2 separate regions of the Homo sapiens genome follow, and region 2 is linked to region 1. The links are contacts of gene promoters, found by promoter capture Hi-C in human tissues and cell types (Jung and others, 2019). All regions are on one chromosome and are shown on one strand. Each heading gives the region's core, a stretch centred on a gene start or on the middle of the fragment in contact. The rest is flanking DNA. Distances are from core to core; before and after follow the strand shown.

The links. Contacts are between HindIII fragments. The study calls those that stand out against the background at their distance.
Region 2: a contact is called between a fragment that was not itself captured here and the fragment with the promoter of COL23A1 in region 1, in 1 of the 25 tissues and cell types used here (spleen).

What each region holds. Positions count from the first base shown.
Region 1 is chr5:178,585,946-178,592,720 of GRCh38, forward strand. It overlaps COL23A1 (collagen type XXIII alpha 1 chain), which reads right to left and starts at 4,448. Exons shown (of 29, transcript NM_173465.4): 1 at 3,959-4,448. The coding sequence starts at 4,252. RefSeq lists an enhancer at 2,894-3,794 and a silencer at 4,450-4,649. The HindIII fragment of the contact is 6,512 bases long and covers 699-6,775 here.
Region 2 is chr5:178,186,322-178,193,096 of GRCh38, forward strand. It overlaps GMCL2 (germ cell-less 2, spermatogenesis associated), which reads right to left and starts at 1,050. Exons shown (of 1, transcript NM_001358008.2): 1 at 1-1,050. The coding sequence starts at 978. The HindIII fragment of the contact is 8,651 bases long and covers 1-6,775 here.

The DNA.
Region 1 (6,775 bases), core at 3,198-5,697:
AAGGTGGGAAAGTTTTCCCCTGAATTGAAATTAAAGAGACAACCTCTCAAGAAGACCGCTCTCTTCCCTGCCCCCTTCCCTTCTACCCAGGCTACTCTTGGGTGAAGACATAGGTTCACAGCTGCAGCAGCCACCTTGTGACCATGAGGAAAGGACAAGAGAACGGCAGAGACTGAGTGGTACTCAGGTGTGGCCAAGTCGCTGACAGACCCAGGATGCGCTGACCGTCTTCCAAGCTTCTCCTGTAGTGTGTGCTAAGAAAGGACACTCAGATATTCTGTTACTTCCCATCAAAAGCATATTTACCATCCTGTACTTTTCCTGTCTGTTATCATATTTGCATACATGGGAGCTGTGACCACACTATCAGAGGAGAGGCAGTGGAAGAGGTTGGATGACAGAGCTGGTAAATGGTGGGACCAGGCCTCAAACTCTCTTCTGCTGATAGGAAACCTCAGGCATGGTCTGCTCTGCTCTGCCTCTGGTATAAATTCATTCAGCTTACAGATTCCCCAACCTCAGGGGCCATGCCTCAAATTTTCAAAGCCGATGTGGAAAAGTCCAATCCAAAATGACAAAATATGTCTGTGAAAGGAACGCCCCAATCCTTGGCTCATTCTAAACATGCTACTATTATTATAAAGCTCTCCCAAACTGTTGCAAGGAAAAAAAAAAAAGGACAAGAAAAGAGTGGAGAGAGAAAGTGAACATGCCAAGAAGTCATTGAAAGGAAACTTTTTTTTGTTGTTTTGGGAGCCAGGAAATGTCAAGGAAACAAATGTAGCTATGATTTACACTGCATCTCCAGTTGTGCCATGGAATTCAAAAATAGGCATCTTAATTAAAACTGACAGCAGAGAGCAGCCCTGACAAGTAGACAAACCACCAAAGAGGCTGAAAAATCTCCATTTGACTCTGGGTTGACAGTATTTAACCAATATACAGAGTTGATAAGAGAAAAGGAAAATGCGTAAACTTTACTCGAGTCTCTGGGCTTTTCTTGTTTTCAAACTGATTGGTCTGGACAATGGAAGGCCAACAGCCAACAATAAATCCATTGTAAGCTGGCATGGTCTCCTCTGAATACAACTAAATATTTCTTTAATCCTTGCATTACATTTTTTACTGTATTATGAAAGCCATGTATTCTAAAGTTTTAAGCTTTTATAACATTGTAACTATAGGTATAAGATGGGGGGATTGATTACTTAGGCAACCTATTTAAAGCACTTTAAGAGGAAAATATTAGATTTTTTTGCATGAATATTTTCACATCATAGTGAAGATACGATCGTTCATGGCTCTTACTCAGAAATCTTGTTTATCTCTTCCTTTGTGTGCCATGGGAAGGGTCTTTAATGATCATGAGTTGACATGAATATTCCTTTCTTGTAGCTTCTGTATCTTCATTATCGGGCACATCAGCCGGTCCCAGAAAAAGTTATTTCACAGTTCTGTTCCCAAGGGAACAAAGAGAGTGGGTCCCATATTCACAGTGGCTTTTGTTGGCTTCTTTCCCCCTGACATTAAAGCCATGTATGGTTGGCAAGGATGTCTTTTCTTTAATGTGGACATGGTTTCTGCCTCTGGTTCTCTGGAAACAAGTTTGCTGTAGGACAAGCTGCCCGCACACTCACATACACGGAAAAGAGGCTTCACTGAGAACAAATCAGAACTGAAAAACAGCTTCAAGTACAAATGTTCTTTTCTTCCGAGATTTTGAGTTCAATATTTATTTGGCTTTCATATCTAATGGCTTGAAAAAGTATCTATACATCTAATTAGAGTTAATTACTCACTCCCTGTATGTGCCTCCCACAGTGCTCTCCTCCCAGCCAAGGAACTCATTGTTACCGGCCAGGCTGTGTACATTTCCCATCCAGTGACATTTACAAGAAGAATAGCTCCTAGCAGAAACAGGCTGGTACCCTAAGAGAGAGAAGCTGTCTCACAGGGGCCACCCAAACAACCAGAAGTTCAGCCCCAACTGCATTCATACTGCACCATCTCTGACTCTCCACTGGCGGGAAAACCCAGCCAGCTTACACTCCACGCACAGCATGCGCCTCAGATACCCAGCTGGGATTAGCGAGCAGGACCACGTGTGAATGGCACGGCAAATTCTCCAGAATACAGGGTTCCCTGGATTCTAAATTTTTCTCTTGCCTTTCTAATCAAGAACAGAGAGAGAGAGAGAACACACACCCTGTCCAATAACTCATTGTTCAAGCACTGTAGTTCACCCAGGTAAAATTCAGTGCAGCCGGGAGGGGGGAAGCCTGGGAGAGCAACTGCAGTCTCTCCCGCTGAAGTTCAGGACTCAAAAATCAACACTTCCCAGCAGTGGCTGCCTGCCCAGGATGCCCCTCCCTCCTAAAATAGACACAATTTGTAGTTCCTTGTAAAATGGTTGTATCAGGACTTCTGATTTACTCAATCAGGGCTTGCGGTTTATTTTTAGCAAATAAGAGAGGCCTCCTATGAGAAAGAGCAGCCACACTTATAGCGCTAACAGGTAGAAACTTTACTGGCCCTCTATAAATCAATTCAACACCCTGGTCTCCAGGCATTTGCCAAAAGCTAATGGGCGGCAATTATGAAACCATCGCCAGGAGTTTCCAGCAGGGCTGAGAGAGAGTTTTAAGTCTGCAGGCCCTTTCAAGGGTAAAATAGGAAATCATTTCATGAAGCAGCAATTTTACCCAGAACCCAGCTAGAAGAGATGTGATCCTAGCTTAAATTAAAGTGACTAAGAAACAGGTGGGGTGAACAAGGAGGTGTGGTACGCAAGTCATCTTCTCCCACTTTCCTTTGGAATCCAAAGGAACTCAACATTGGAAACACAGCTGGATACGTTAATAAAGATCCCAGCTGGGCAGTCTAGGGAATTGGGGGTGTACAGGCCAGTGCTCCCTCTCCTCCACCTTGAAACCCTGCCTGTTTTCACACAGCAATTGAGGATGCGCCCTTGGACAGCGACCTTGGGGTCTGGAGCAGCCATCTATCCCAGGAGAAGGAGGAAGGCTCGGCAGGGGAGGCTCTGGCCAGCCCACCAGGGCCTGTCCAGTTTCGTGGGGAGGGGAACTGCCGCACATGCCGCACACAAAAGGCGGAGGCTTTGACCAACATGCTGGGTGAGGGCTTGGAGGACCCAAAGGTGGCTCTTTCTTTGAAGACACACAGCAGCAATCTTAACCCTTAGAAGTGTCACAGAGCCTCATATGAGCTTTCAAGTAAGCTGTGGAAGTCGCGATTCCCAGGTAAGGGACGGGAAACTCCGGATGTCCTGCGAGCCCACACCCCAGATGGCACCGCCTGAAACCAGAATCCAGGTCCTCCACCCCCGATTGTTTCTCCTTCCTCTCATCTTACCAAGTCATGTGGGCGCCCCCACCCCCATCCCCGAGGCCTCAGTGCGACGGTGACCGCTCAGTCTTGGGGCCTGAGCTGCTGGAGACACACTGGAGCACAGCGGGGCCCAGCCCTCGGGCCTGTCTGAGGCTTTCCTCCGCCGTGACCACCGCCTCTCCAGGTGTACCAGCGTTGGTTAGGAACAGTAGGTGCTACTGGTCACAGTCACCAGATACTTCCCACGAGCCTCATCTTTATCCCCGACTCTGGCCGCCGGCGGGAAGCGGCGTGTCCGAGCGCACACCCCGTGGAGACTGACCCTAGGTCTGTTACTCCAAAGTCCCTGGTCTCTCCTTCCCCTTTCTCGCGGCCGCCTGCCTGGCACGGGACCCTGAGGCCGGAGCGGAGACCGCAAAACCCCTTGGGGCCGGCACCCCCTGCCTCCGCCTTGGCGCAGACGTGCCCATCTCTGGGACGGCCCCGAGCGCACGCAGCCGGCGGGCGACCCTCCTCCCAGAGACCTGCACGCTGCCCCCGGCTCCCAGCGTACCGCCACCCTCAACCCGACACACCCAAGTCCGCCCCAGCCACGCGCCAAGACGCTCACCTCCCGCAGCAGGCGCTCCAGGTGCGGCTCGGCCCAGGCGTCCAGGGCGCCTGGCGGCCCCGCGCGCCGCAGCAGCTCCCGCTCCTCCTCGAGCGCCGCCACCCGGCCCTGCAGCGCGGCCGCCTGGACACCCAGCAGCAGGCAGGCAGCCGCCGAGCCCACGGAGAGCAGCAGGCACAGCGCGCTCACCGCCCGGGACCCGGCCGTCGTCGCCGAGCGCCCTCCGCCGCCGCCGCCCGCCGCATTGCCCTTCCCCGCGTCGCCGCCGCCACCGGCGCGCTCGCCTGGGCCCATGGCGCGTTCGTCGCGCGTGGACTCTCCGAGGGGGCGGTGCTGCTGGGGCAGAGGCTGGGTGCGAGAGGAGCAGGCGGGACAGCCCGAGGCACGAGGTCCGCCGGGCGCGGGGGTTAGCCTCCGGGTAGCAGCGGATCGCCGCGCACGCCCCCTTCGCCGCAGCCAGCTCCTCCACAGCGGCCACTTTGGGCAGTTTCCTCTATGCAAATAGACCCTGCCAGAAAAGGAGCAGGGACCCACCCAGGGGAGGAGCGGCCGGGCTGGCCCCGCGCGGCGAGGGGGCGGGGGCGAGGAAGGAGCGAGCTCCTCGGAGCCACCCGTCGGCGCCGGGCTGATCCCACGCGCAGCGCGCACCTCTGCCCTCACCTAGCCCGGGCGCCGGCACCCGCCCCCGCACGCACCTCTGAGGCTTCCCCAGCCCAAGCCCGCACTGTGGACCCCAGAGGTCGGAGGGGAGCCCGGCGACACCGCGCCCCTTCTGCAGCCCACCCCTGGCTGGAGCACCCACCACTCGTGCCTTAGCACATTCCTCTAAACTTGTGAATTACCTTTCTGACACTTGTAAAAGTTCAAAACTTCAAATCCTGCAAAAAACTGAGTGGGTCTGTCCTCGGTGGTGGATTAGCGCCGCTTCGTGGCGGAAAGCGACCTCTGCGCACTCACATTTAGAGAGGCAGGGTCGAGATTGCGCCAAACAGAAATACGCCCCTTAGAATCTTCTCACGAGTTCTTAGCTGCCGGACTTCGGTGCGGGAAACAAAAATGGTAAGACTGTTTCTGGCCTGGAGAGGGCTTTTGAGAAAACTGAGACTATAACGAATGGGAAAGATTCAGAAAATGAACTTCAAGTCTTGTTCAACTGATGACTTAATTCTGTATTAGACGCACAACTTGGCCAAAAATTATGATCTAGTATGCACCACACTTAACCTGTACTGCGATTCTGCTGCAAATTTAAATCACAGGGCTGAGGCAAGAAGGCTGTGGCGTACAGCCTGGGTCCAGAGAACAGAATGAGTGGCACTAACAAGTCTTGGCAGGAAAGGGAAGAACTGCTGGAAGTCAGGCTGGGTTCAGATTCCTACCAGGCATATTCATGTCCTAAATGGGTCCCAAGTAACTCTTTCGCTAACTCCTGTAATACCTAAATGAAACAACAAACCAGCAGTTCAGATCTTTGTGATTTGAGTAACCCCCCAACCATTTTTTTTTAAGAAAAATAACGTTATATCCATCTTCCCTCTCACTCTGGATATCTTCTGGTTGTCTCATTTCTGTGGATACTCACCTTTTAGAACTGTTGAGTGCCTCTGGCTAACATGTTCCATCTCCTTCCCTTAATTCAGAGGGGAACCCCTGAGATGGCCGGGGGTTATGGTTGATAGACTTGGCTCTGTGCTAAAGTCTGGTGTATGCCCAATAGAATGAAAAGTTGGCCTCATTCTGAAAAGAGGCCAACACCCTCTTACAAGTCAGCACTACATTTCTTACAGGCACATAAACTGCACACCACCTACCTATGTTAATGTTACTGCATGTATTGTTTGCCATGTTCCTGAAGCTTCTGTGTATTGAAAAAGCCAAGCTCACTGGCCCCTGGGCCTCTGCCCTTGCCTACCACCTCACTACCTGCATTCCTGCTCTCAGATCGTTAAACGGCAAGCCCCTCCTCATCCTCCAGGTCAAGGTCCTCAACCTCACTGCTTCTAAAAGATCTTCCCAGACTGCCCAATTTAAGGTGGCCCACAAGATTAATCAGGGAATTGGGGCGGCTGAATTAAGATGGAAATACTGTCTGCAACTCATTCTAAAAGGCGAAAAAGAAAATGACTTACTTGTGTCCATTAGGGTCCTGGAAGAATAGATGGCATCCTCAGAGAGGGTGACTCAAGACAGCCTGAATGTAGAGCCACTTCACAAAGTGGAGATCAGAGGGGCCAGCAGGGGAGGCCGAAGCAGCACTCTGCGGGTATTGACAGTGGGAGGCCATTACCATCCCTAACTGGGAACCCTGGGGAACTTGGAGCTATAGAAGAGGGCTGCTCCACAGCACCTGTGGCCCTTGGTTAAGGGGAACAGCCTCTGCAAAGCCATGGCTTGAAAGGGAGGGAGCTCACAGAATAAATACTCAACTGCTCTCTCCTGCTCTCTGATCTACTGGGGCCTTCCAATGACCAAACCTCCAGGGCAGGGGCCAGCCTCCTAGAGGGCAGAGAGCAGAGGCAGAAGGAAGAAGGGCAGATCTTGAGGGGGAATAAAAGAATATCCACTAACCTATCGTGTGTAGCATCACCTAACAGGTAGACAGCACTTACACCAATCCCGCTACTGCTGCCTATGAATGGCTAACCTGTCAGCAATAGACTAAACAAGGTACTCCTCAGGCAGACTAACTGGCCACGTGGTGGCAAAACAGCTACTTTGGATTCCCTCCTTCCTGCAAGGACCAATGGTTTGCCCCTCACAGGGACAGCACCAGGTGTGGGCTTGTCTTTCCTGCCTGCAGAGCCTCAGCCAGCATTG
Region 2 (6,775 bases), core at 2,435-4,934, 400 kb before region 1:
TGGTTTTCCTGGTTCAGTTTCAAGAAAGGCCATACCTTCAAAATCTTTTCTCTGTTTAGAAAACCAGACATCTGTTTCTGTCAAAAGCTGTTTTAAAGATCCATTCCAAGAAGGCACAAGTTGAAGGAACATCCACTTTTTTAGAGTGGTGTATACATCCATCTCCACTTGCATCACAAATAAGTTAGAGGAACCAATGAGCTGTTTCATGACATTTATACCGAGTTCTTTAAAAAGTTTAACATTCTGGTGAGTCATCAAATTGTTTAGAAGCCATTCAAGGCACTTTTTCTTTACAGAATCTAATCCATAGATCTCTACTGATGTGTAATAACCGCATACAGTTTTCACATTAATTGTTTCCTTCATTGTCTCACCACACTGCTGTATTAAACCATCCAGCTGCAGCATACAAGCTGCTGCCAAAATGGCAACAACTCGACTGGGTTTTATCAAGACATCATCTCGATACAGTGAACCAAACGCAACCTGCAGTGCGTCTACATCAATGTTCTGGTCAGGAATCTCCAGTTCAATAATATTCATGCTGGATTCTTTCCAAGAACCACTGAACATACTAGAAAAGTAGCCAGATTGACATAAATATATTTTGTGTAATCGCCATTCTTCTCCTAGAGCACAAATCTTAATGTCACTGTTTTCACCATTCAAAAATAATGTTTGATAAATATATTTGGATGTACTCCTTAATTTTTTCCTTGCAGGGGTGTTGAGGAGCGGCTGCTGCTTGTCCCCCTCCTCCTCATGCTCCTCCCTGTGCGAGTCCGGGTCACAGTAGCGGCAGGCCCCGCTGCTCCGCTTGCGCTTGTGACTGCCCGGGCAGTAACAGAAGCCGTAGCTCGCCGCATCGTCTCCAGTGTCCGGCCTCCGGGCCGAGCCCCTGGCCCTGGCACCCTGTTCCTGCTGGGCAAGGGCTCGCCTCGGCTGGCCCAGCACCCGGCTGCTCGACGATCCCATGGGTCACGGCTCCCCAGGACTTCAGGGAGCCCAGAGGAGGGGGTCTCTGGCCATGGCCCGGCCGCCGCCGCCAGCCTTCCCCGAGCACAGGTGCCTACACCGCCACCTTCTCACGCGCAGCCCCAACCGTTGCAGCGGACACTGCCGCCTCCAACCTCCGCACCCCTCCCCCACAATTTTTTTTTTTTTTTTTTTTTGAGACGGAGTCTTGCTCTGTCGCCCAGGCTGGAGTGCAGTGGCGCGATCTCGGCTCACTGCAACCTCTGCCTCGCGGGTTCAAGTGATTCTCCTGCCTCAGCCTCCTGAGTAGCTGGGATTACAGGCGCCCGCCACCACACCTGGGTAATTTTTGTATTTTTAGTAGAGGCGGGGTTTCCCCATGTTGGCCAGGCTGGTCTCAAACTCCTGACTTCAGGTGATCCTCTTACCTTGGCCTCCCAAAGTGCTGGGACTACAGGCGTGAGCCACTGCCTCCGGCCTAAAACAATTTCTTTTAGAGACAAGGTTTCACTGTGTTTCTCCGGGTGGTCTTGAACTCCTTGGACAGCATTCTTCATTGCTGGAAGCAATTCTCATCTGGCAGCCAAAACCAAGGTCCGTTTTAGAAGGACCACTTCCCTAGGAGCAAAGTTTTATTTGCAAGACCTGACAAAGGAAAATGTGTGTACCAGACGCTTGAGCCTAACCAGTCCAATGTAAATTTGCGACCAGGCACAAAAATAAAATAAAATAATAAAATAAAATAGGCCAGGCTCGGTGGCTCATGCCTATAATCCCAGCACTTTGGGAGGCCAAGGTGGGTGGATCACATGAGGTCAGGAGTTTGAGACTGGCCTGGCCAACATGGTGAAACCCCATCTCTACTAATAATATAAAATTTAGCCAGGTGTGGTGGTGCACGCCTGTAATCCCAGCTTTTCGGGAGGCTGAAATGGAGAACTGCTTGAACCCAGGAGGCAGAAGTTGCAGTGAGCCAAGATCGCATCATTACATTCCAGCCTGGGCGACAAGAGCGAAATTCCGTCTCCAGAAAAAAATAATAAGATAAAATAAAATAGAATAAAGACTTGAAGTCAAGCCAGGTACGGTGGCTGCTCACACCTGTAATCCCAGCACTTTGGGAGGCCGAGGTGGGCAGATCACGAGGTCAGGAGTTCAAGACCAGCCTGGCCAATATGGTGAAAGTGACCATGGCTGGGTGAAATGATCACTGCAGCCGGTCTGGGAAGGCAGAAGCAAGCAGAGGGCCTGGGCAGGATAGGCAGGGATTCTCTGTGGGGAGGATCTGTGGAGACAGGGGCAGCAGGATTAGGATGTCGGAATTGAGGAGGCTTTTGTCCTTGGGGGATGGAGTGGAGAAGTGGGGCATGGTCCTGGAAATTTGCCCTGCAGCCTCACCAGGCCATCTGGAAGCTACTTGTTGGGAACCCCGTGTGTGTAAAGGGCTGACCCAGGCCCAGACCCGGAGGAACTGGAGAAGGGCACACACTGAGACCACCCGAGGGGTGTGCTGGAACTGCTTGGCCAGTCCTTGGGGATGGGATGGCTGGGGCATGTGGGTGTCTTCCTGTAAGAAAACAGGACTTGATGAGGAAGGTGGGAGGCTGTTCCAGGCAGATGGAGGTCTGTGCCCCCAGAGCAATGTAGGAGTCGCCATGCGGGGCTCCATCTTTGGTACAGTGGGGGCAGAGATTGGCGAGGGGCATCAGGGCCAGATATGTAGGTGTGGGGAGCCCTAGATGGGCCAGTGCTGCAGGGGGAGGCAAGGTCATGCCAGGGAGGTGGATGGGACGCTGGACACAAGTGAAGAGTGACCAGCCCTGTGGCTTCCTCAAACCTATGTGAGTGCCTGCCCCATTCCCAGATGAAGAAAACAGAGGTTTCAATAGGGAAAGTGACTTGTTCTAAATCCCAGAGTTGGGAAGTCAGGAAGCTCAGCCTCCTGATTCCAAAGGCAAATCTGGAGTTTCTGTTGGAGTTAAGGGGCCAGGTGAATGGTCTATGTTGACCAAAAAAAAAAAAAAAAAAAAAAAAAAGCTCTGTAAAATGTTTAAAGAAGTTTATTCTCTGGCGTGAACCCGGGAGGCAGAGCTTGCGCCACTGCACTCCAGCCTGGGTGACAGAGCGAGACTCCATCTCAAAAAAAAAAAAAAAAAAAGAAGTTTATTCTCAGCTGATATGAGTGACCATGACCTGGGGTACAGTCTCAAGAGGTCCTGAGAAAGTGTGCCTCAGATGGTTGGGTTATAGTTTGGTTTTATACATTTTAGGGAGACAGAGGTTACAAGCAAATACATCAATCAATACATGTAAAGTACACATTGCTTCAGCCTATAAGGGCAGGACAACTCCAGGGGAGTTACAGGTCATAGGTGATTCAAAGGTTTTCTGATTGGCAATTGGTTGAAAAAGTTAAGCTTTGTCTAAAGAGTTGAAGTGGCTGGGTACAATGACTGACATCTGTAATCCCAGCACTTTGAGAGGCCGAGGAGGATGGCTTGATCCCAGGAGTTTTCAACAAGCCTGGGCAGCGTAGTGAGACCCGGTGTCTACAAAAAAATTTTAAAAATTAATTGGGCATCGTGATGTGCACCTGTAGTCCCAGCTACTTGGGAGGCTAAGGTGGGAGGATTACTTAAGCCCAGGAGGTCGAGCCTATGGTGAGCCATGACTGTGACACTGCATTCCAACTCGGGGGACAGAATGAGACCCTGTCTCAAAAATAAAATAAAACAGGCCAGTTGCAGTAGCTCACACCTGTAATCCCAGCACTTTGGGAGGCCAAGGCAGATGGATCACTTGAGGTCAGGAGTTCAATACCAGCCTGGCCAATATGGTGAAACCCCATCTCTACTAGAAATAGAAAAATTAACTGGGAGTGGTGGCATGCATCTGTAATCCCAGCTACTCTGGAGCCTGAGGCAGGATAATTGCCTGAACCTGGGAGGTGGATGTTGCAGTTAGCCGAGGTCGCACCATTGCACTCCAGCCTGGGCAACAAGAGTGAAACTCCATCTCCAAAAAAAATAGTAAGATAAAATAAAATAAAGAGTTGAAGGCATGGTGGCTCACGCCTGTAATCCCAGCAGTTTGGAGGCCAAGGAGGGCAGATCACGAGGTCAGGAGTTCGAGACCAGCCTGGCCAATATGGTGAAACCCTGTCTCTACTAATAGTACAAAAATTAACTGGGTGTGGTAGCACACATCTGTAGTCTCAGCTACTCTGGAGGCTGAAGCAGGAGAATCGCTTGAACCCAGGGAGGTGGAGGTTGCATTGCACTCCAGCCTGGGCGACAGAGCGAGATTCCATCTCAAAAAAAAAAAAAAAAGCGTTGAAGTCAGTGGGAAGAAATGCTTGGGTTAAGAAAGGGGTTGTGGAAGCTGAGGTTCTTGTTACGTAGATGAAGCCTCCAGGTAGCAGCCCTCAGAATAGATAGTGAATGTCTCTTTTCAGACCTTCAAAAGTCTCAGACTCTCATTGAATCTCTCCTAAATCTGACAAAGTCCTGGCTACATTAATGGAAATTCTCTACAGATGCAAATTTCCCCCATGGGAGACAGCTTTGCAGGGCCATTTCAAAATATTGTCAAATAAATATATTTTGGGGTAAAATATTTTGATGCCCTTCAGGGTCTGCTATCTGTTACGTGATGTACCAGAGTCAGGTAGAAATTTGGCATCTTATTGCTACAAAAATTCTGTTTTGAGCCAGGCACGGTGTCTCACACCTGTAATCCCAGCACTTTGGGAGGCTGAGGTGGGTGGATCACCTGAGGTCAAGAGGTCAAGAGTTTGAGAGCAGCCTGGCCAACATAGTGAAACCCCATCTCTACTAAAAATACAAAAAATTAGCTGGATGTGGTGGTGGGCGCCTGTATTCCCAGCTACTCAGGAGGCTGAGGCAGAAGAATTACTTGAACCCGGGGGCCAGAGGTTGCAGTGAGCCAAGATCATGCCATTGCACTCCAGCCTGGGCAACAAGAGCGAAACTCTGTCTAAAAAAAAAAAGTCTGTTTTGTCAGTCTTATGATCTCTATTTTATTTATTTATTTTTAATTTATTTTATTTTATTTTTGAGACAGAGTTTCACTCTCGTTGCCCAGGCTGGAGTGTAATGACGCTATCTCGGCTCACTGCAGCTTCTACCTCCCAGGGTCAGACAATTCTTGTGCCTCAGCTTCCCAAGTAGCTGAGATTACAGGCATGTGCCACCATGCCTGGCTAATTTTTTGAATTTTTTGTAGAGATGGGGTTTCATCATGTTGGCCAGGTTGGTCTCGAACTCCTGACCTCAAGTGATCCACCTGCCTTGGCCTCCCAAACTGCTGGGATTACAGGAATGAGCCACTGCGCCTGGCTAGAATAAATACTTTATGCTTTGGGCCAACAGGCAAAATCGAGGGTATGAAGTCGGTAAGTACATACCAAGAAATGAAACCAACTTCCATAATTTGGGGGGATTGCTATTGACAGAATGTCAAAGTTAATTTATGGATGCTGAAAGTTGAGTTTCATACAATTTTTATGTGTCATGAAATATTATTATTTTCATTATTTATTTATTTATTTGTTTATTTATTTATTTATTTTTGATACAGAGTCTTGCTCTGTCATCCAGACTGTGATCTCAGCTCACTGCGACCTCTGCCTTCTGGGTTCAAGCGATCCTCTGCCTCAGCCTCCCAAGTAGCTGGGATTACAGGCACATGCCACCACACCTGGCTAATTTTTTTGTATTTTTAGTAGAGATGGGGTTTCACCATGTTCAAGGCCAGGCTGGTCTTGAACTCCTGACCTCAAGTGATCTGCCTGCCTCAGCCTCCCAAAGTGCTGGGATTATAGGTGTGAGCCACTGCACTCAGCCTGATTTTTTTTTCAATGATTTAAAAATGTAAAAACCATTCTTTGTTCAGGGATCATATAAAATCAAGCAGTAAGCAAAATTTGGGCTATGGGCCATAGTTTGCCAACTCCTGGTCTAGATCTGCCCTGTTCATCATAGTAGCCACTGGCTACATGCAGCTATTGAGTACTTGAAATGTGGCCAGGGACAGTCACGATGGCTCACACCTGTAATCTCAGCACTTTTGGAGGTTAACGTGGGAGGATGGCTTGAACCCAGCAGTTTCAAGTTACAGCAAACTATGATTGCAACACTGCATCCCAAACCTGGGTGACAGGGAAAGAAAGAAAAAGAGAGAGAGAGAGGGAGGGAGAGAGAGAGAGAGAAGGAGGAGGAGGAGGAGGAGAAAGAGAGAAAAGAAAGAAAGAGAAAGAAAGAAGAAAAAGAAAGAAGAAAGAAAATAAGAAATAAGAAAGGAAGAAAAAAGAAAGAGGGAGGGAGAAAGGGAGGAAGGAAGGGAAGGGAGGGAGGAAAAGAAAAAGAAGTGTGGCTGTACTGAATTAAAATATGCTTAGGTGTAAAATACACACTAGATTTTGAAGACAGTACAAAAAGAAAATATCCCAATAACTTTTTGTTGATTATATTTTGGATATCTCAGAATAAGTAAAATATATTATTGAAATTAACTTCACCCCCCCCCCTTTTTTTTTTTACTTTTTTTTACTTTGTCTTAGTCCACTTTCTGTTGTTCGAATATCTGAGACTGGATAATTTTTAAAGAAAAGAGGTTTATTTAGCTCACGGTTCTGCAGGCTGGGAAGTTCCAGATTGGACGGCTGCATCTGGCAGCTTCTGGTGAGAGCTGTGTGCTGCACCAAAATGTGGCAGAGAAATGGAAGGCGGACCAGGCACCTGGAGGAAAGGGGGAAAACACGAGGGGCGACCTTGCT